Linked DNA regions of Homo sapiens: regions 2, 3, 4, 5 and 6 are each linked to region 1. The links are contacts of gene promoters, found by promoter capture Hi-C in blood cells and fetal thymus (Javierre and others, 2016). All regions are on one chromosome and are shown on one strand. The core of a region is centred on a gene start or on the middle of the fragment in contact, and the rest is flanking DNA. Distances in the headings are between cores, read along the strand shown. Region 1 holds the start of KRABD5 (KRAB domain containing 5). Region 2 overlaps ZNF668 (zinc finger protein 668). Region 3 overlaps STX4 (syntaxin 4). Region 4 overlaps FBXL19 (F-box and leucine rich repeat protein 19). Region 5 overlaps STX1B (syntaxin 1B). Region 6 overlaps SETD1A (SET domain containing 1A, histone lysine methyltransferase).

Region 1 (3,073 bases), core at 380-2,879:
CAGCCCCAGGACACTAACAATTCCACCCTCAGAAAGAGCTTCCCAATCTCCCTTCCAGCCCAACCTCGACCACATCCGCCTGTGAATCCCCTGCTTTCCAGAACTCTGCAGCTTCTCCCAGTAACAAAGGGCTCCCTCCATGGCTGCTGTGAACCTCAGGGACACCTGAAGGGGGCGCTCCCCAGGAAGAACTAACTGGGCCTTCAATGACCTCCTTTTGCAGGCTCAAATAAGACTGAGGTCTTCTATGCCTAGTCAGGGTTATTCCACACACCCGCTTCTCAATTCGCAGGCTCTCTCTTTCAGGTCCATCGAGGTGGGGTGCCTTCTTCCCATCTCATCAGCTCTCCACAAGCATCTAGCGAGCTCTAAAACCTACCCCAGGATAGCAAACGTCAGACCTTCCTCCACTCTCCTGGCACTGCACGCCTTCTGGGGAGTGCTGCCAATCCTACCTCAACTGAAGGGACAGGAGCAGGTGCCCAGCCAGTCAGATGTTCAGTGACCTAACAGGTTTCAGGAAAATAGCAAAATCACTCAAAACAGTTTTTATAGAAAGGAAGGAAACTGTAAGGCACTTACACTTTATACTTCAACAGGTAAGGCCAAAATACCTCTTTCGAGCAAGAAACATGTCATTTAATTATTTCCATAATAGCAGATCATTTAGTATATGTGAACACTTCTAGGAGGTGCCAAGTCCTGTCTCATAACATTTGGCATTAAAGTCGGACATCCAGATAGCAGTAGAATATGGAACACAGATATCCACTGTCACAAATCCTCCACTGCAAAAGAGAGGACCTGATATTTTAATGAATGTTTGTAATTGACCAATTAATCTAGCACACTTTCTGTGGAAATGTATTCGTTTTCTACAGCCAAAGTGGAAGAGAGATTGTCCCTATTTCTTTTCCCCAGCAGCATTCCTAAGCTGAGCCCTGGGATTTTGAAATCGCTGCTCCAGAGGACCCTAAACCACAAACCACGGCGGCAGGCTTCCCATTTCACCAATCGCTGTTTACCTAAATCAACCCTTTAACGCTTTAAGGGTGACTCCCCTTAATTTGTAAGAGGAAAAAGGAGACTGGGACACCACGGGGCACAGTATCTTCCCACACACGAATCACACGCCGACCCGGGATTTCCCCTAAGACCCTCACGTTCTCACCGCACAATCTCGGGAGACGCCGGGCTGCGGCGACCCAAAGACGGCTCCGGCCATGGCAGAGGTCGCTCTGCGGGGTCGGGAGGGGACCGGACGCGCGGGGTCCCGGCTGCCGGCCCGGCCGCCATCTTGCGGCGGAGGGGACCAAGGGCCGAGTTGCGTCCGCGGGGACTCAGGGCCCAGACCCCGAAGCTAACCTCAAAGAGGGTTCCCGCCGCTTCCGACCGCCCCTCTCCCTCTTCTGGGGACCCCCGACCTGGCACATTCACCATTTCCCAGCTTCCGGGATGTCCTGGCGTCTGAGCTACGGATCTCCCGGTGCCTGCCGGTCACAGAGTAACAGAGGTTCTGTCTATTCTCAGAACGCGAAGCCGCCTTGGCCTCCCAGATGGAAGGACTGGGAGCCCCTGGTGAAGAGACTGAGCTCTTACTGCAGCCAACAAAGGCCACCGCCAAATCCCGGAAGCCGCCCCTGCTCTCCGGCTACTCCCGATTGGAGGATTTCCACTCCGACGCCACTGATTGGGTAAAGCTCCAGGCCCCGCCCTCTCACTCGTTCTGCTTTTTGAATGGGAGACAGGCTCATTGAGGTGGGGCCACCTGCTGAGGGTATTACAGCTAATTTAAGGGGTGAGCTTGGACTTGAAATGCACTTGCTTTCCCGTACCTGGTTTTGCTTGTATAAGGCATCTTATTAGCTAATTAAGTTTAAGAAGGAGGGCATTTGGGCACCTTTAAAACAACTTTTTAACCGTTCTAATAACACAGGAAAGACCCTCATCCCATCCTTAGCACCTCTCATCACACGGTACCCCACTGCTCAGGACATAACTGTGGGACTGCAGAGGAAACTGCTGGGGTTTTTGGGGAGCATGCAGGAGGCTTCAACAGCCAAGGTAACGGTGGCTTCCCTTGGGTGTCACTTAAAATCTTGGGGTCAGGGACATCTTTTATCCAGTTGGCTCAGGGAAACTAACAGACAGGAGGATTGTAATTTTTTTTTTCTTTTCTGAATTTCCAAGACATAAAGGACTATCCAAGCATCCCAAAAGGCATTCAATTATACATAAGGCTGAGGGCCTCCCTGCTCTGGAGAGGGATGGCCTGGCAGCCACCAGCTGCAGTGAGCTGAGATAGTGCCACTGCAATGGGCCTTAAACTTGCCCTCTTGTAGACAGGCCACCTCCACACACCCGCTTCTCACATCGCAGGCTCTAACCCTCCGGTCCATCAAGGTGGGCTGCCTTCTTCCCATGTCATTAGCTCTCCACAAGCATCTAGTTAGCTCTAAAACCTACCACAGGATAGCAAACGTCAGACCCTCCTCCACTCTCCCGGCACTGCACGCCTTCTGGGGAGTGCTGCCAATCCCACCTCAACTGAAGGGACAAATCTGGGCAGGTGCCCAGTCAGATGTTCAGTGACCTAACAGGTCCAGCATGCCCAGGGCCTGACCCCACAGCCTAGCACCCCTCCCCCACCTGGCCTTCAATCCAGCCTTTCTTCTCCAATGACGGGATGTTCACCTGTGCCACAATCCCATTAGTCTAGTGACGAGGCCAGGTAAATCCCAGCTGAGTGCCTGTGACTCCACCCTCTTACTTCCCACTCAGGTGACATTACAAGCATAACCTTGAATTTGAGCTAATTTATACATATTCCTCTCCTAGTAACCTGTTTGACAACAGCCCTCACAATCCAGAGACTGGGGCAGCAGGTTCCAAAACCTCACTTTATTCCAATGTGAAATGAAGACATGATGGTTTAAAAATGAGAAAAAGTTCCTGATAAGCTGTGGGGGTGCTTCACTTGCCAGCTCATGCCCATTCCCTCTGAAACAAGGTGTCTGTTACCCATAAACAACTCTCTGTAAAGCCCCAGGTAGAGGTCACAGCTGGACGTGGC
Region 2 (2,946 bases), core at 438-2,937, 640 kb after region 1:
GGGCAGCTCCCACGCGGCCACGATCCGAGCTGGCCTCAGTTTCCCTGCGGGCGCCGAGGGCGGGCCGGGTTGGCCCAGCGCGAGCAGCGCGGGCGGGGCGGGCTGTGAGCGGCCCCGGGCGCATTGCGGGCCCAGCAGGTCCTAGAACCCGCCGGCTGTCTCCGCGGTTCTGGGCTGCGGACACCCAGGCTCGGCCCGCGCGGCTGCTGGCCCGGCGCGGTGTGGTCCCGGGGGTCCTAGAGCCCGCCATGTTTTGGGTTTTTGTCCCGGTCGCGTGGCCCGCGCTGCAAGATCCCAGGCGCCGGCGGCCCCCTCCCCTGCTGAGGCCCGGCCACCACTCCCGCGGTCCTAGAGAACGCCATCTTGCAAGCCTTTGTCCCTCATTCGGCCTTCCGTCCATTCATTTGTTCATCTCCTCATCCTTCGTTCAGTCCTCCTTGCCACGTCCTCCGAAGCCACGTTTTCTGAGGCTTATAACCGGGGTCCTGCCCTCCAGGGGCTGCCTGGCTGGCGGGGGCGCCGCGTACAGACGGTTGCGAGGAGCGAGGAGCTCCGGGTTTCTGCAACTCTCGGCTCCTCGGCGCGCTTCGTAGGCCCCACCGCCCTTCAAACTCCCACAAACTTAAGGGACCCCATTTTACTGATGAGGAAACTGAGGTCCAGAGCGGCGTGGGGCCCTTACCTCTCTACTGCCATAAAGTATTCCTGAGGGCACTAGGGAAGGGGGTTCTTGAAGGATGTAAAGGGGCTTTCCCGTTGGAGAAGGCAGGCAAGGGCTCCCCGAGCCCAGGAAACTGCATCTAGAGGTGGAGGATTGAGAATTGTGGCTGGAGGTTCGGTCGCTGCCGGGAGGAGGACTCTGTCGCTGGAGCTGAGGCTGGAAAAGTAGGTTGGGATCAGGTTGTGAACTGGCCCGGTAGGAGGCCTAGGATATGATTAGCGCTCACTTCTGCAGGGTTCATCCGCTCACTACGTCACTCCTGGCCGTGAGGCCTGTGTGGTGACTGCTTGTTTAGAGATGGGAAGATTGAGGTGCCTCCTTTTTCTCCTCATCCCTGCCCCAGGGTCCTAGCCTAGGATTTTTGGAAATTGAATCTTTGCTTGCCTAGTGAGACAGCAGAACTTCATCCCCTTCCTAAGCCAGTAGTGAGGCAAAGCAAGGCTTCATCGCCACGACAGGGAGCCCACTGTGGGATATTGGGGCAATAGTTGAGCCTTGTGGAGTTGGAAAGGTGGAGGAATTTAGTTAATAAACAGTTATTGGTGGACATTCTCACAAACTCCTACTGTGGAGGAGGCAGAGGCTACAGACCTGGGTTCAAATTTCATCTGAGGTTGGTTCTTTCCATTTGTTTTGGGTCACCACACAGGGTTCTGGGTGTAGAGGAGGCAGATGATCGGTTTCCTAGCCCTTTGCCAGCCTGGACTCTGGTGCTGGTGATGAAGAATTAACAGCCAAACCATAAGATGTGTAATGCTAGCAAAGCAATAGTCAGGGCTCAGAGAGCAGGTGTTTGGGATTTGAACACTGGCTGGGACCGTGACTAGTAAGCTTGTTTCTTTGTGGTGTCACTTCTCATAAGAACGCTAATCCTACTGGACCAGGGCCATACCCTTATGACGTCATTCAGCCTTAATTACTTCCATAAAGGCCTTGTCTCCAAATACAGTCACAATGAGAGTTAGAATTTCAATATATGAATGGACAGGGAACACAAACATTCACTCATAATGAACTGCTAGGCAGCTGTGCAGTTGGCTTGAGTAGTTGAGTATTATGCACAAAATGCTTAGAATGATACCTTGCCCATGGTAAGCTTGCAAGGAGTATTGTCCAGATGACACCATAAAGGAAATTAGAGAGGAGGGGTGCTGGTCACTGTGGCTCATGCCTGTAATCACAGCACTTTAGGAAGCCATAGTGGAGGAGCATCTGAAGCCAGGAGTTCTTGAGACCACTGTCGGCAGCGTAGTGAGACCTCCATCTCTATATACAAAGAATTTTTAATAAATTAGCGAGGTGTGGTGGTGGGTGCCTATAGTCCTAGCTACTCAGGAGGATTGCTTGAGTGCAGGAGTTTGAGGCTGAAGTGAGCTATGATTGAGCCACTGCACTCCAGGGTGACAGAGTGAGACCCAATCTCTAAATAAAAATAAAGGCCAGGCACGGTGGCTCACGCCTGTAATCCCAGCACTTTGGGAGGCTGAGGCGGTCGGATCACTTGAGGTCAGGAGTTCGAGACCAGCGTGGCCAATGTGGTGAAACCCTGTCTCTACTAAAAATACAAAAGTTTGCCAGGTGTGATGGCTTTCGCCTGTAGTCCCAGCTACTCGGGAGGCTGAGGCTGGAGAATCACTTGAATCCGGGAGGTGGAGGCTGCAGTGAGCTGAGATGCAGCCACTGCACTCCAGCCTGGGCAACAAAGACTTTCTCTCAAAGAAAATAAATAAATAAAAATGAAATAAATAGGCCGGGCATGGTGGCTCAAGCCTGTAATCCCAGCACTTTGGGAGGCCAAGGTGGGTGGATCACCTGAGGTCAGGAGTTCCAGACCAGCCTAGCCAACATGGCCATCTCTACTAAAAATACAAAAAATTAGCTGGCTGTGGTGGCAGGCACCTGTAATCCCAAATACTTGGGAGGCTGAGGCAGAAGAATTGCTTGAACCCAGGAGGCAGAGGTCGCAGTGAACTGACATCACACCATTGCACTCCAGCCTGGGCAACAGAGGGAGACTCTGTCTCAAATAATAATAACAATAAATAATAAAATAAATAAAAATAAGCCAGGCACGGTGGCTCATGCCTGTAATCCCAGCACTCTGGGAAGCCGAGGCAGTGGATCATCTGAGGTCAGGAGTTCGAGACCAGCCTGGCCAACATGGTGAAACTCCATCTCTACTAAAAATACAAAAAATTAACCAGGCGTGGTGGTGGATGCCTGTA
Region 3 (3,092 bases), core at 212-2,711, 670 kb after region 1:
GCGACGCGGTCTCCCACACATGGCAACGCGGGACTGAGCCCGCCAGACTGGGCAGCTGGGAGCGGCGGCAGCGGCAGCAACAGCAGGGGCCTGTAAGATTGAAAGTGGGATGGACTGGGCGGCTGCGACGCAGTCCCCAGACCTTGGAGGTCAGAGCTAGGCGCCGCCCTACTGCAAGTAGGCAGGTGCCAGGAGCCGGCTTACCCTTTAAAACTAGGTGTCGGGGGCCGGGCGCGGTGGCTCATGCCTGTAATCCCAGCACTTTGGGAAGCTGAGGCGGGCGGATCACGAGGTCAGGAGATCGAGACCATCCTGGCTAACACGATGAAACCCCGTCTCTACTAAAAATACAAAAAATTAGCCGGGCGCGGTGGCGGGTGCCTGTAGTCCCAGCTACTCAGGAGCCTGAGGCAGGAGAATGGCGTGAACCCGGGAGGCGAAGTTTGCAGTGAGCGGAGATCGCACCACTGCACTCCAGTCTGGGCGATAGAGCAAGACTCCGTCTCAAAAAAAAAAAAAAAATTAGCCGGGCATGGTGGCGGGCGCCTGTAGTCCCAGCTACTCTGGAGGCTGAGGCAGGAGAATGGCGTGAACCCGGGAGGCGGAGCTTGCAGTGAGCCGAGATTGCGCCACTGCACCCCAGGCTGGGCGACAGAGCGAGACTCTGTCTCAAAACAAACAAACAAACAAACAAAAACTCTAGGTGTCGGGGAACAGGAGCCACGTCCACTCCAGAAATTAGGCATCAGGACTAGGAGCCCTTAGAAATTTAGGCGGTGGCTCACGCCTGTAATCCCAACACTTTGGGAGGCCGAGGAGGGCAGATCACGATGTCAGTAGATCGAGACCATCCTAACACGGTGAAACCCCGTCTCTACTAAAAATACAAAAAATTAGCCGGGTGTGGTGGCGGGTGCCTGCAGTCCCAGCTACTCGGGAGGCTGAGGCAGGAGAATGGCGTGAACCTGGGAGACGGAGCTTGCAGTGAGCTGAGATAGTGCCACTGCACTCCAGCCTGGGCAAAAGAACAAGACTCTGTCTCAAAAAAAAAGAAAAAAAGAAATTTAGTCAGGGCTTGGATTTCAGGTACCTTATGGAAGAAATCAGAGGTCAGGCTTTTCTGCTGCCACCACCTGCTTCAGCCAGGTAACCCTCAGCAACCAGGTGCACTGATCCAGGATCACTGGCTCTCTATGCTGCTGCTGCTGCTGCTGCTGCTACTGATGATGATTGCTATTATTTTTGAGACAGGGTCTCGCTCTGTCACCCAGGATGGAGTGCAGTGGGATGACCATGGCTCACTGCAGCCTTAATCTCCTGGGCTCAAGCGATCCTCCCACCTCAGCCTCTGGAGTAGCTGGGACGACAGACACTTGCCATCACGCCTGGCTAATTTGTAAAATTATTATTCTCTAAAGAGAAGAGGTTGCCCCATCCTGCCTAGGCTGGTCTCAAGCTCCTGGGCTCAAGAGATCCTCCTGCCTGGGCCTCCCAAAGTGCTGGGATTACTGGTGCGAGCCACCACACCCTGCCTAAACGCTTATGTAAAAGATGATGCTTTTGTTGGTCACAGGGCCCGGCCTCCTGTGCTTTCTGACTGGCAACCTCTTCCCCAGCTTAACATCCCACTCCAATGTCATCCCTGCTGAAACCAGACCATCCCTATCCACTGCATCCAAAGTGACAGCCTCAATTAGGCATTTTTTCATGGTGCCTCTTCCTCTGGGCCACAAGAAGGCCCACTGATGCCACCCAAACCCCCATCTCACCTGCGTCCCAGCCTGGCCTGGTCAGCCTCATCATTTCCAAGACAGATACTCACAGTGGTCCTTTCCCGGGGACAGTACTGAGCCAGGAGCTAGATGCCGGTGTTACCCCTCCCTGCCCACCCATTCCTATGGGGGTGCAGAAAGGCAGAACCAGCCTGCTGTGGGCACAGCACCCCTGGCAGTTTGACCTGAGCAGCCAGGGCCAGACCTGGCCCTGGGGACGTCCAGGAGGTAAGGAGGTTGGATGCCCGGAAGCCTTGGGCCAGCCCTTCCAGGAACACACGTGCACAGGGCTTTCTATGCTCTTTTTTTGTTTTTTAATTTTTTACAAAACCGTGTGTCCCGGCCAATCAGGACAGTGCAGGCCTCCCCCAGGCATTGAGGCCTGAAGGAGGAGGCCATCATGAATGAGCAGCTGCCAACCCCAGAAGAACTGTCTGCCCTTCTGCATAGGGGCCAGTGTGAGGAAGGGGTCCGACTGGAGGCTCTGCCCTGCCCCCCAGGCTGCTGGGAGAGAAGGCCAGGCCCTGGGTTCCTGGTGCTCCTAGTGCCTGTAAGGAAAGGAGGGAGAACAGGGTCTGAGGGAGGAGGGAGGGCTGGGGCCAGGGCTGGGGCAGGCCAGGGGGCAGCCCACAACATCTCACCAACAATGTGCGACATTATCCAACCACTGTGACGCCAATGATGACTGCTAGGAGGACGACGGTGATGGACACACAGATGGCAATCAAGACTTTCTTCTGTGGGAGAGGAGGGGGTCAGGGAAGTCACACAGGGTGCCTGGGGCAGTGGCCGGGCCTGGGAGGCTCACCTTCCTCGCCTTCTTCTGGTTCTCCAGGGCCGTCTTGACGTGCTCCTGCCCACGTTCCACGTAGTCCGCTGAGCTCAGGATGTTCTTCTCAATCCGATTGATCATCTCCCCCTGCTCAGAGGATGGGGTGGTTCAGGGAGGTAAGGATGCCTTTGCCCACCCCACCCCAGATGACTGAAGAACATTCCTGGCAGGAAAAAAAAATTGCACTAACAAAGACAAGGGCAAGACTTGATCTGACAAAAGTTCAGACTCCTTGGGGATGGCTTCCAGGCCCCTTCTATCATGTAGTCCCTTGTCCCCTGCTCACTTATCCCATACAACCTCTATCTGCAGTGGTAGCTTGGAGCTAAGGGCCTCAAATGGCTCATACCTTTCACAGATGGTGAACTGTGCCTTCACAAATCTGTCTGAATTTACCCATTCTTCCAGGCCTATCTACAGCTGCTGCAAAGCCCTCCCTATCCCTGCCTCCTCCTGGCACCACCAGCCTCAGGTCTCAGTACTCCTAC
Region 4 (3,009 bases), core at 258-2,757, 770 kb after region 1:
CTCCGTACCACACACCCTACCTTGTAGTCGGTTCAGAAGCCACATGAGCTGCTTCTTGGAGACACCTGTCCAGCTGAGGTCCAGGGCACGGGGCTGGCGGCGAACCACACCACTGAGCATGGGCGGGGTCAGTGACTTCCGCCGGCTCAGGTCCATTCGAGGCCACAGACGCTTGTCATAGCACCTGGCGGCCATAGGGGGGAGACAGAGACCTCAGCCCTCAGCTCTCAGCAGCCCACAGTTCCCAGGCTCCCCAGCTCCAAGGGTGCACCCCAGCTCTCTTCTGGCCACACAGACAACAGGGTAGCAAGAAGCACCTGACCTCAGCCAAGAGCACTGGGATTGGAACCCAACTCCATCACTAACTGGAAATGAGACCCTGGGCAAGTCTGTTCCTCTCCCTGAGCCTCAGAAGCCTCGTTTATGATTGAAGGCAATAGCCCCCCCACTCTGCCTGCCCACAGGGCAGCTGTCAGGTCACATGGGCTCATCCCAGCTGTGGGCCTCCCAGCATAGAAAGTGTGCTGCCCAACACATACACAAATGCCACGCATGCTGCCTGATGTCATGCCAAGGGGACTGGTGTTATCCAGTCGTCTCCAGCCACCCTTGGGCTTCTTGATTCCTGACTGAGTTCTGGTGCTCATGGGTCCTTGCCTCCTTTACTCATCTCTGCTTCTGATCCACACCTGTCCCATCTTGACAGCCAGCTGCCCGCAGCTGGACTTACAGCCCTAATATCTTCCCTATTACATTACTGTGTTCCTCCAACTACAATGTAAATTCCACAAGGGCAGATTTGCGTTTTCCACTTTTTGAAAAAAAATTTTTTTTGAGACAGGGTCTCACTCTGTAACCCAGGCTGGACTCAGGCTCACCGCAGCCTCAACCTACTGGGCTCAAGCAATCCTCCCACCTCAGCCTCCTGAGTAGCTGGGACCACAGGCACATGTCACCACGCCTGGCTAATTTTTAAACAATTTTTTTGTAGAGACAGGGTCTCACTATGTTGCCTAGGCTGGTCTTGATCTCCTGGCCTCAAGCGATCCTCCTGCCTTGGCCTCCCAAAACACTGGGATTACAGGCATGAGCTACTGCACCCAGCTGCCCATTTGTAATGAATGAATCAAGCTAGTAACTACTTAAAGCTTCCACTGACCACTCTCCCCCACCTCCTCATCTACAGCATTTCATTTATTCACTCTGATTATAGAAAGCGTTATAGGTCCCAAGTATTGAAGCTACAAAGATGAACGAGTCCTAAGCAACATTAAACAGGTTTCCTAACCCGAGCACTCCACAGGCCTCAACAGACTATCTAACATGCAGTGGGCTGGGTGCAGTGGCTCACACCTGTAATCCCAGCACTTTGGGAGGCCGAGGTGGGTGGATCATGAGGTCAGGAATTCGAGAACAGCCTGGCTGTTCTACTAGTGAAACCCTGTCTCTACTAAAAGTACAAAAAATTAGCTGGGCATGGTGGCGGGCGCCTGTAATCCTAGCTACTCGGGAGGCTGAGGCAGGAGAATTACTTGAACCCGGGAGGCGGAGATTGCAGCGAGCCGAGATCGCACCACTGCACACCAGCTGGGGCAACAGTGAGAGACTCCATCTCAAAAACAAACAAACAAACAAACAAACAAAAAACATGCAGTGAACTGGAGAAGGGCCTCTCAAACGTACTTCCCCAGGAATCCTTCCCCACCTCTCCCAAGGTAATCTAGTAACATTTTGTAGTACACTGAAGTTCCTTTGGACTCAGTTTGAGAACTCTCTTCTCTGAGTTCAGTAGTTCTCAAAGGCATGTCCAGAAATGCCTCTGAGACTCAATAGACTGTGTCAGAAGCAGCAGGCCCAGGAAGCTTTTTTTTTTTTTTCTTGAGACAGTGTCTTGCTTAGTCACCCAGGCTGGGGTGCAGTACTGCGATCACAGCTCACTGCAACCTTAAACTCCTGGGCTCAAGCCATCCTCCTACCTCAGCCTCCTGAGTAGCTGGGACTACAGGCACATGCCACCACACCTGACTTTTTTTTTTTTTTTGAGACAGAGTTTCGCTCTTGTTGCCCAGGCTGGAGTGCAATGGTGTGATCTTGGCTCACTGAAACCACCATCTCCCAAGTTCAAGCGATTCTCCCGCCTCAGCCTCCAGAGTAGCTGGGATTACAGGCATGCGCCACCACGCCCGGCTAATTTTTTGTATTTTTAGTAGAGATAGGGTTTCTCCATGTTGGCCAGGCTGGTCTCGAAATCCTGACCTCAGGTGATCTGCCCACTTTGGCCTCCCATAGTGCTGGGATTACAGGCGTGAGCCACTGTGCCTGGCCTATTTTTTTATTTTTAGTAGAGACAAGGTTGTCCAGGCTGGTTTTGAACTCCTGAGCTCAAGCGATCCTTCCCTTGGCCTCCCAAGGGAAGCTTTCTCTTGCCTCCCTCCCTGCCCTCATGACTCTGAAAGGCTTTTCCTTGTAGAAGCCCTGGGCTGGGGCAGTGATTCCCAAGCTCCAGTATTTGCTGTTCACTTATCTGCGTAACATGATTTATCTTTGAATCATCTCCTCTTTGCACTTAAAACCAGTATTGTTGCCGGGCGCGGTGGCTCATGCGTGTAATCCCAGCACTTTGGGAGGCCGAGGTGGGTGGATCACTAGGTCAGGAGATCAAGACCATCCAGGCTAACACAGTGAAACCCCGTCTCTACTAAAAAAAAAATACAAAAAATTAGCTGGGCGTGGTGGAGGGCGCCTGTAGTCCCAGATACTCGGGAGGCTGAGGCAGGAGAATGGCGTGAATCTGGGAGGTGGAGCTTGCAGTGAGCCGAGATCGTGCCACTGCACTCCAGCCTGGGCGACAGAGCGAGACTCCGTCTCAAAAAAAAAACAAAAAAAAAAACCCCAGTATTGTTTCACATAAATATGTTAATCTTAAAAATAAACACAAAAGTCCAAGTGTGGTGTAATCCCAGCACTTTGGGAGGCCAAGGTGGACAGATCACGAGGTCAGGAGATTGA
Region 5 (3,059 bases), core at 349-2,848, 710 kb after region 1:
TGAGGCAACTGAGGCTTGAATCGTTCACCTGTAACCTGAGGCCACCATAAAGTAGACTGGGGCACATTTGATCATCTTTTCCTAGGTAGTCTGGTTTGCCCACAGCCTGCTTTCTTTTTGGCTGGCCTAACTTCTTCCAGAAATGGATGCTGTACTCATTACTAAATATGCATCACTCAGAGCACGGAGGGCCCTTCAGAGCAGGGTGGGCACTTGCACCAGTCTGCTCATTTCAGTGATGAGGGAACTGGGGCCCAGGGAGGAGTCTAAGTTTGCCTGGGGTCACACAGCAAGACAGACGGAGGCTGGGAGGGATGGCCTCCTGTCCAAGCTCTTCCTGCAGCCCTGGGCCCCTCCTACTGATTTTCTGTCCTGGCTGCAGGAGTTCAGCAGTCCTGAGGACATGGCAGAGTGGGCTTTTTAGGACCAGGAGGGACTGCCATCTGTCAGCAGGACAGAAGGGAGAGAGCCTGACATTTAGTGCCAGACAGTCCTGGGTTCAGGTCCTACCTCTGGCCTCATTTGCTGTGAAGCTTTAGGCAGGTCAGGCAACCTCTCTGAGCCTGTTTCCTTGTCTGTAACATGGAATCAGCCGGTGGTAGGCATTGTTACCACTCAGCAAATGCAGAGACTAGGCTCAGGGGTAGAGCCAAATGGTCTTCTAACAGCTGACCTGGGGCAAGTTCTTTTTTTTTTTTTTTTAAGAAACGGGGTCTTGCTCTGTCACCCAGGCTGGAGTGCAGTGGCACAATCACAGCTCACTGCAGTCTCTTGACCTCCTGAGCTCCGGGGATCCTCCTACCTCACCCTCCCAAGTAGCTGAGACTACAGGTGCGCACCACCATGCCCAGCTAATTTTTGTATTTTTTGTAGAGACATGATCTTGCTATGTTGCCCAGGCTGGTCTTGAACTCCTGGGTTCAAGTGATCCTCCCACCAGAGCCTCCCAAAGTGCTGGGATTACAGGCGTGAGCCACTACAACTGGCCTGAGTTATTTAGCTCTATGCCTCAGTTTCCCCATCTATAAAAGGGGGCTATAATAATACCTCCAAGGGGACTGTTGTAAGAATGAAATGGATAGATATATGTGGAGCACATAGAACAGTGCCTGGCACATTGTAAAACATCATCTAAATATTTGCATAAGTATAATTATGTTGGCCAATGGTCCTTACAGAGTCCTAATGAAGATTAAATGAGATAACAAGAATGTAAGACTTACGCAAAAAATACCATCAAGTGCTCTTGTTTTGCTAGGTTGTCCGGACACAGAGCCTTCCCCAGATTGGGACTTAGCAGGCGCTCACTGAGAGGGAAAGTAACTGGGAGCGGAAAGTCAGTGGGGGAGGTAGCCCAGTCTGGAGCCTAACAGCGGTCTTTGAGGGGCTGGATGCCCATGGTTTTCTGGCCCTATGTGGCCTGGGTGCCCTTGGGCAAGTCACTCTCCTTTTACCCCCCTGGCTTCCTGTTCCCTCATCTGTGAAATGGGGACGATGATGTTTATGCAGCTTTTCTCTCAGGGCTGGTGGTGCTGAGGATCAAAACGGATTATGGATGTAAAAGTGTTTGTAAATGGTAGAGGATTATTAGCTCCCAGCTCTCTTTGTATTTATTATACCAAATAAACCACACTTGGGCCTTCTATCATTCTTCCTGTCTTGAGGGCAAACAAATAGGTAGCCCAGGGTGCTCCAGAGATGAACCTAAGGGAGGTGGCTCCAAGAACAACAGGAGAGATTGAAATTAGATTTTAGGAAAGACTTCCTAACATTAGCATGGGGAAGGGAGAGACACAGAGAACAGGAAAGTCCTCAGGCACCCGGGCCAGGGAGAGGCCGCATGACCTGCGTGAGGCTGGTGGCTGAGTGAGTGGTTGAAGGGAGAGAAAGGGCAGAGGAAGGCTTTTGGCTCTAGGGGAAGGAGGCCTTGTAGCACAGCTGGATTTTGAGGACAGAGAAAGTGAAGAGCATCATGGTAGGCCGATGGGTCCTCAGAGGTGAGCCCAGCATCCCAGAGCCTCTCAGGGTCCCCAACTTATGCCACCTGTGCCGCCCCACTTTCTGGGGGCAGCTGTGAGCCAAGACAGAGGAAACTCCCTTTCCAGGCGGATGGTTGGGATTGTCTGGAAATTCAACACAAGTGCTGAACACATTTTCCGACACAGTGTGGGCCCAGCGTCTGTGTGAAGACTCCCTGGAGTTCCATTTGGGCTGGGCTTAGCAGGGAGGCTGGGGTGGCTCAGGAGCGTGGAGCTGGAGGCCCCCCAGGCTGTGCTGGCTTTTCCTGGGGCTGTGGGGCACTGCTGATCCTGAGTTTTGGCTGTGTGGACTGCACCTAGGTCCCATCTGGCCCTGTCTAGGTTCAATCTGAGCTGTCTGGGATCTGTCTGGGATCCGTGTGAGCCTCGGCTAGTTCAGTCTGAGCCTGTCTGGTTTCTGTTAGGCCCTGTCTGCGTTCCGCTGGGACCCTGGCAAGCTCTTCTTTTTGGATTCCAACTGAGTACACCCCCAGGTGGATGCTGTTTGGATCCTGTCTTGATTTCACCCAGCCTCTGGGGTTTGGATTCTGTCTGAGCTCTGGCTGGGTTCTTTTTGGAAATCAGAATGAACTCTGTATACATTTCCACTGGGGCTGATCAGGGCTCCAGATGTCATTAAGCTTGATGGACTCAGATTTTGCTGTCAGACCTCTGTCCCAAGCAGAGAAGGACTCAGGTGTGTGTAGCACAGGGCACCTCCCCTACAGCCTCTCCTGTCCAGCTCTGAGTGTGTGTGCAGACATGAGGCTCGGAGAAGCTGGAAGAACAAGCCCAGTGAGCCCTCCCAAATGTCCTCAGGGGTGCAGCTGAAAGCCAGTGTGTCCACACATGTCAGTGCGGCTCAGCTGTGAGTCTGCGTGCGGGTGAACGCCAGCATCAGTGCATCTCCGTGTGGGTGTCGGGGGGGCCTATTCCTGTGTGCCTTGGGTGTCAGCTCTTCTGTCTGTGTCTCGAGTCTGTCTGTCGGTGGCAGTGGTGCTGTGGGTGGGTAAATCTCTTTGTGTCTCTGAGCCCTGCGGG
Region 6 (2,939 bases), core at 440-2,939, 750 kb after region 1:
CCCCCTCTCCCTCTCCCCACCCTACCCCACAAAACGACAGTTCTGAGTACCTTGAATGAAGGCAGCCGCAGGGCCCCTCTCAGCCCTGACCCAAAGGCGAAAGCCTCGATGCCCGTAGTGCCCCCGCTCTTGGCCCAGTCCACGAGGGACAGCAGGCCAGGCTCCTTCAGCTTCGTCTTCTCTTTATCCTCCTCCTTGGCTTGCTGCTTGGCCGCGTTCTGGAATGGCTGCAGGCAGCAGTGGGGCTGAGCCCCAGCGCCCAGAACCCAGGCATTCCCTCCTGCCTGAGACCTACTCCCGGACCCCAGGAATACAGAACGCATCTACTTGCTGCTCCATATCTTGGTCACACCTGTCCCAGCCCCCGCACGGCATTTTCTCAAAAGTCTGTCATTTCGCCCACCAGTCTTAAGAAATAGCCACCATTCCCACTTCACAAGTGGCAAAATGGAAGACCAAAGCTTGAAGAGAGCTAAGGGCCTTGTCCACTGCAAGCCAGCAAGGAATGGAGCCAGGACAAAGCTCTGCTGCCTCCCAGGCCCATCTGTGCCTGCTTCTCTGTCCCCTCAACTCCCCTGCCCACCCAGGGTGGCCTGCAGGGCCTGCGGCCTCTCTCCACTCGCCTCCATCACCTGTCTCCTCTGAGCTGTGCAGCCTGGAGGAGCCAGAGGCCCATTTCCTCCTGCAAAGCCCAGGGCTCCCCGGTCCCAGGCGCTGGCCTCACCTTGGCCTTCTCCTCCTTGCTCTCCCACCACTGGTCAAAGGCTCCGAAGGCCACGTTCTCCACCATCTTGCGGTTGAGGTCTCGCTGCATGATGCTCTTCATCTCCTGGACCAGCATGGCGAGCACACGGCCCACGGTGCCTGCTGTCGGGAGGGTCTTGCCCTCTGCCAGCTCTGCTTCTTCCCTGGGTGGCAGCCGGGCCTCCTCTCCCGAGACTGAGGAGGAGGGCAGGGGCTCGGCTGCCATTGGCATGGGCAGGTGGTAGGCCTCCCGTGAGTATGCCCCTCTGCCCTCCTGCCCCTGTGCATATAGAGCATACGGCAAGCCGTAGGCTGCCTCCTGCGGGGGTGGAAACGGGAGGAAGGCCTCCCCAAAGGCCCCACCGGGGGGGCCAGCTGAGGCGGCAATCAATCCCTTGCCCTGCCGCAGCTGATGGAGCCGAGTTAACATCTGGGTCTGCATCTGGAAGGACATGGGCATCCCTCCCCACTGAGCCCCAAGTCGGTCCATGAGCTCCAAGGAGTTCACAAAGTCATAGATGTGCGGGGGTGGTGGAGGAGGTGGGGGGTACTCAGGGGGCGGCGGCCCATCAGGTCTGGGTGGGAGGAGGTAGGCAGGTTGGTGGGGAGGATAACCAAGAGGAAGGGACGCCAGGTAGGGAGGAGGAGGCGGCGGGGGAGGGGGAGGTGGCGGAGGCTGCTGAGGGGGCGTCGGGGCCGGAGGGGGTGAGCCACCCCGGTCGTCGTCGGAGATCTCCATGTCGTCTCCAGAAGAGCATGGAGAAGCCTGCGGGGGCAGAAGAGGGTCACAGAAGGCTTCTGCCTGACCCAAGCCCTACTTTCTCATCTGGTTCCCTTCCCTCTCCCCTAGGCCCAACCCTGACTCCCAGAGCCCAGGTGCCTCCTCTGGCTGACCCCAACCTCACCTGGTTCTGTCCATTTGCCTTGGGAGACTCCCGGGTAGCCCCTGGCTCCCCGCTCCCTGTAGGTGCCACATCCTCAAAATTAGCTGGGGCCGGAGGGGGTGTGCAGGGCCCATGCCCTGACCCAGAAGGCACCTCACTCCCTGTATCTCTGGCCCCAAGGACCATGCTGCTGTTCTCTTCCTCCTCCTCTGTGTCAGAGGCCAAGAAGGAAAACTTGGAGCGCTGCTCCTTCAGCAGCATCTCGATGCGGGAATCCAGGCTGCTGTGCTGGGCGAAGGGCACACTCTCATTGGTGGTCTCCGGGGCTGGGGAGCCAGAGCGGGCAGGGGAGGCTGGGCGGGGGGAAGTCCGAACTTCTTCTCTCTCAGGGCTGGGCCCTCCTCCACCCCCGCCTCCACCAGGTTCTGGAGGCTCCGGGGGTGGAGCCTCTGAGGCAGGAGGCCGGTAGTCCTGGTCGGTGGGCCGGCTGGGCTCGGGGGGCAGGTAGGAGGTGTAAGAAGGTGGGAAGCGCTCAGCTGTATTTTCAGCAAAAGGGGCTCCAGGGGGTTCCTCCCGTGTGGCCCGGCGTGGTGGGTAGGAAGTATGGCGCTGGTAGCGATTCCAGCTTTCATAATACGCTGGGTAGTTTGCATCAGAACTACGAAACTGAGAGGACGAGGAGGAAGAGGATGACGAGGAGGACGAGGACAATGAGGAGGAAGAGGCGGAGGATGAGGCAGTGGCTGCAGTGGTGGCGGCGATGGCCGTGGAGGCGGTTGTGGAGGCTGAAGATGCAGAGAAGTGGCGGCGGGAAAAGGCATCTTGGTAGCTGTTCTCTGACCGCCGGGGCTTGAAGGAGGTTGAAGTGGTGCTGGAGAAGAAGCAGGGGAGTTAGCTGGACTCAGCTCTCTATGACCAAACCACAGCGTACTGGGTCCCAGGGCCCAAAGCCCCTCTATGCTGCCCTCCAAAAGAAGAGCTATATGTTGGGTTCCTAGCTAGTGTGTTCCCCGAGGACAGCAATTTGTTGACTGAATCCACAGAGAAACTAGGACAAATTATTTCCAACTCCCTCTTGGAGACAGACTCTGGGCATCTTCTTCCCAGTGGCAGCTCCCAGACTTTGCGGGCGGGGCCCCAGGCGGGGTCTGCTCTGTACCTGCTGGAGTAGGCAGAGTCCTGAGAGTAGGGGGTGCTGCCCCGAGACGTGTAGGGGGTTCCTTGGGAGGACTGAGGTGTGAACTGGCCAAAGGAAGATGGGGTATCTTGTCGGCTGCTGGAGAAGCTTGTGTCCTGGGAGCAGGGGGTGCC

The links. Contacts are between HindIII fragments. The CHiCAGO score rates a contact against its expected background, and 5 or more counts as called.
Region 2: a fragment that was not itself captured here is called in contact with the fragment with the promoter of KRABD5 in region 1 in 3 of 17 cell types (fetal thymus, naive CD8 T cells and total CD4 T cells); the score reaches 7.0 in fetal thymus.
Region 3: a fragment that was not itself captured here is called in contact with the fragment with the promoter of KRABD5 in region 1 in 2 of 17 cell types (total B cells and naive CD8 T cells); the score reaches 5.1 in total B cells.
Region 4: a contact is called between a fragment that was not itself captured here and the fragment with the promoter of KRABD5 in region 1, in 1 of 17 cell types (total CD4 T cells). The highest score is 5.4, in total CD4 T cells.
Region 5: a fragment that was not itself captured here is called in contact with the fragment with the promoter of KRABD5 in region 1 in 2 of 17 cell types (fetal thymus and total CD8 T cells); the score reaches 6.6 in fetal thymus.
Region 6: a fragment that was not itself captured here is called in contact with the fragment with the promoter of KRABD5 in region 1 in 3 of 17 cell types (fetal thymus, non-activated CD4 T cells and activated CD4 T cells); the score reaches 7.2 in fetal thymus.

What each region holds. Positions count from the first base shown.
Region 1 is chr16:31,711,800-31,714,872 of GRCh38, reverse strand. KRABD5 (KRAB domain containing 5) reads right to left here and starts at 1,629. Exons shown (of 5, transcript NM_001130913.2): 1 at 1,438-1,629. The coding sequence starts at 1,440. RefSeq lists enhancers at 169-218, 1,343-1,462 and a silencer at 1,193-1,252. The HindIII fragment of the contact is 15,701 bases long and covers 1-3,073 here.
Region 2 is chr16:31,070,679-31,073,624 of GRCh38, reverse strand. The region is part of intron 1 of ZNF668 (zinc finger protein 668); the gene reads left to right. It also overlaps a transcript of ZNF646 not described here. Among named protein-coding and RNA genes, the nearest start is that of ZNF668, 2.1 kb to the left of the region's middle. RefSeq lists a silencer at 1-234 and enhancers at 123-417, 1-509. The HindIII fragment of the contact is 265 bases long and covers 1,555-1,819 here.
Region 3 is chr16:31,039,140-31,042,231 of GRCh38, reverse strand. It overlaps STX4 (syntaxin 4), which reads right to left. Exons shown (of 11, transcript NM_004604.5): 9 at 2,581-2,691; 10 at 2,414-2,509; 11 at 2,068-2,320. The coding sequence ends at 2,429. Among named protein-coding and RNA genes, the nearest start is that of STX4, 7.1 kb to the right of the region's middle. The HindIII fragment of the contact is 8,081 bases long and covers 1-3,092 here.
Region 4 is chr16:30,939,291-30,942,299 of GRCh38, reverse strand. It overlaps FBXL19 (F-box and leucine rich repeat protein 19), which reads right to left. Exons shown (of 11, transcript NM_001382779.1): 8 at 21-184. Among named protein-coding and RNA genes, the nearest start is that of ORAI3, 8.3 kb to the left of the region's middle. RefSeq lists a silencer at 161-290. The HindIII fragment of the contact is 714 bases long and covers 1,151-1,864 here.
Region 5 is chr16:31,002,321-31,005,379 of GRCh38, reverse strand. All of the region lies in intron 1 of STX1B (syntaxin 1B), which reads left to right. Among named protein-coding and RNA genes, the nearest start is that of STX1B, 6.8 kb to the left of the region's middle. The HindIII fragment of the contact is 2,126 bases long and covers 536-2,661 here.
Region 6 is chr16:30,964,172-30,967,110 of GRCh38, reverse strand. SETD1A (SET domain containing 1A, histone lysine methyltransferase) reads right to left here. Exons shown (of 19, transcript NM_014712.3): 6 at 2,788-2,939; 7 at 1,650-2,499; 8 at 725-1,510; 9 at 51-227. Among named protein-coding and RNA genes, the nearest start is that of SETD1A, 7.9 kb to the right of the region's middle. The HindIII fragment of the contact is 2,452 bases long and covers 464-2,915 here.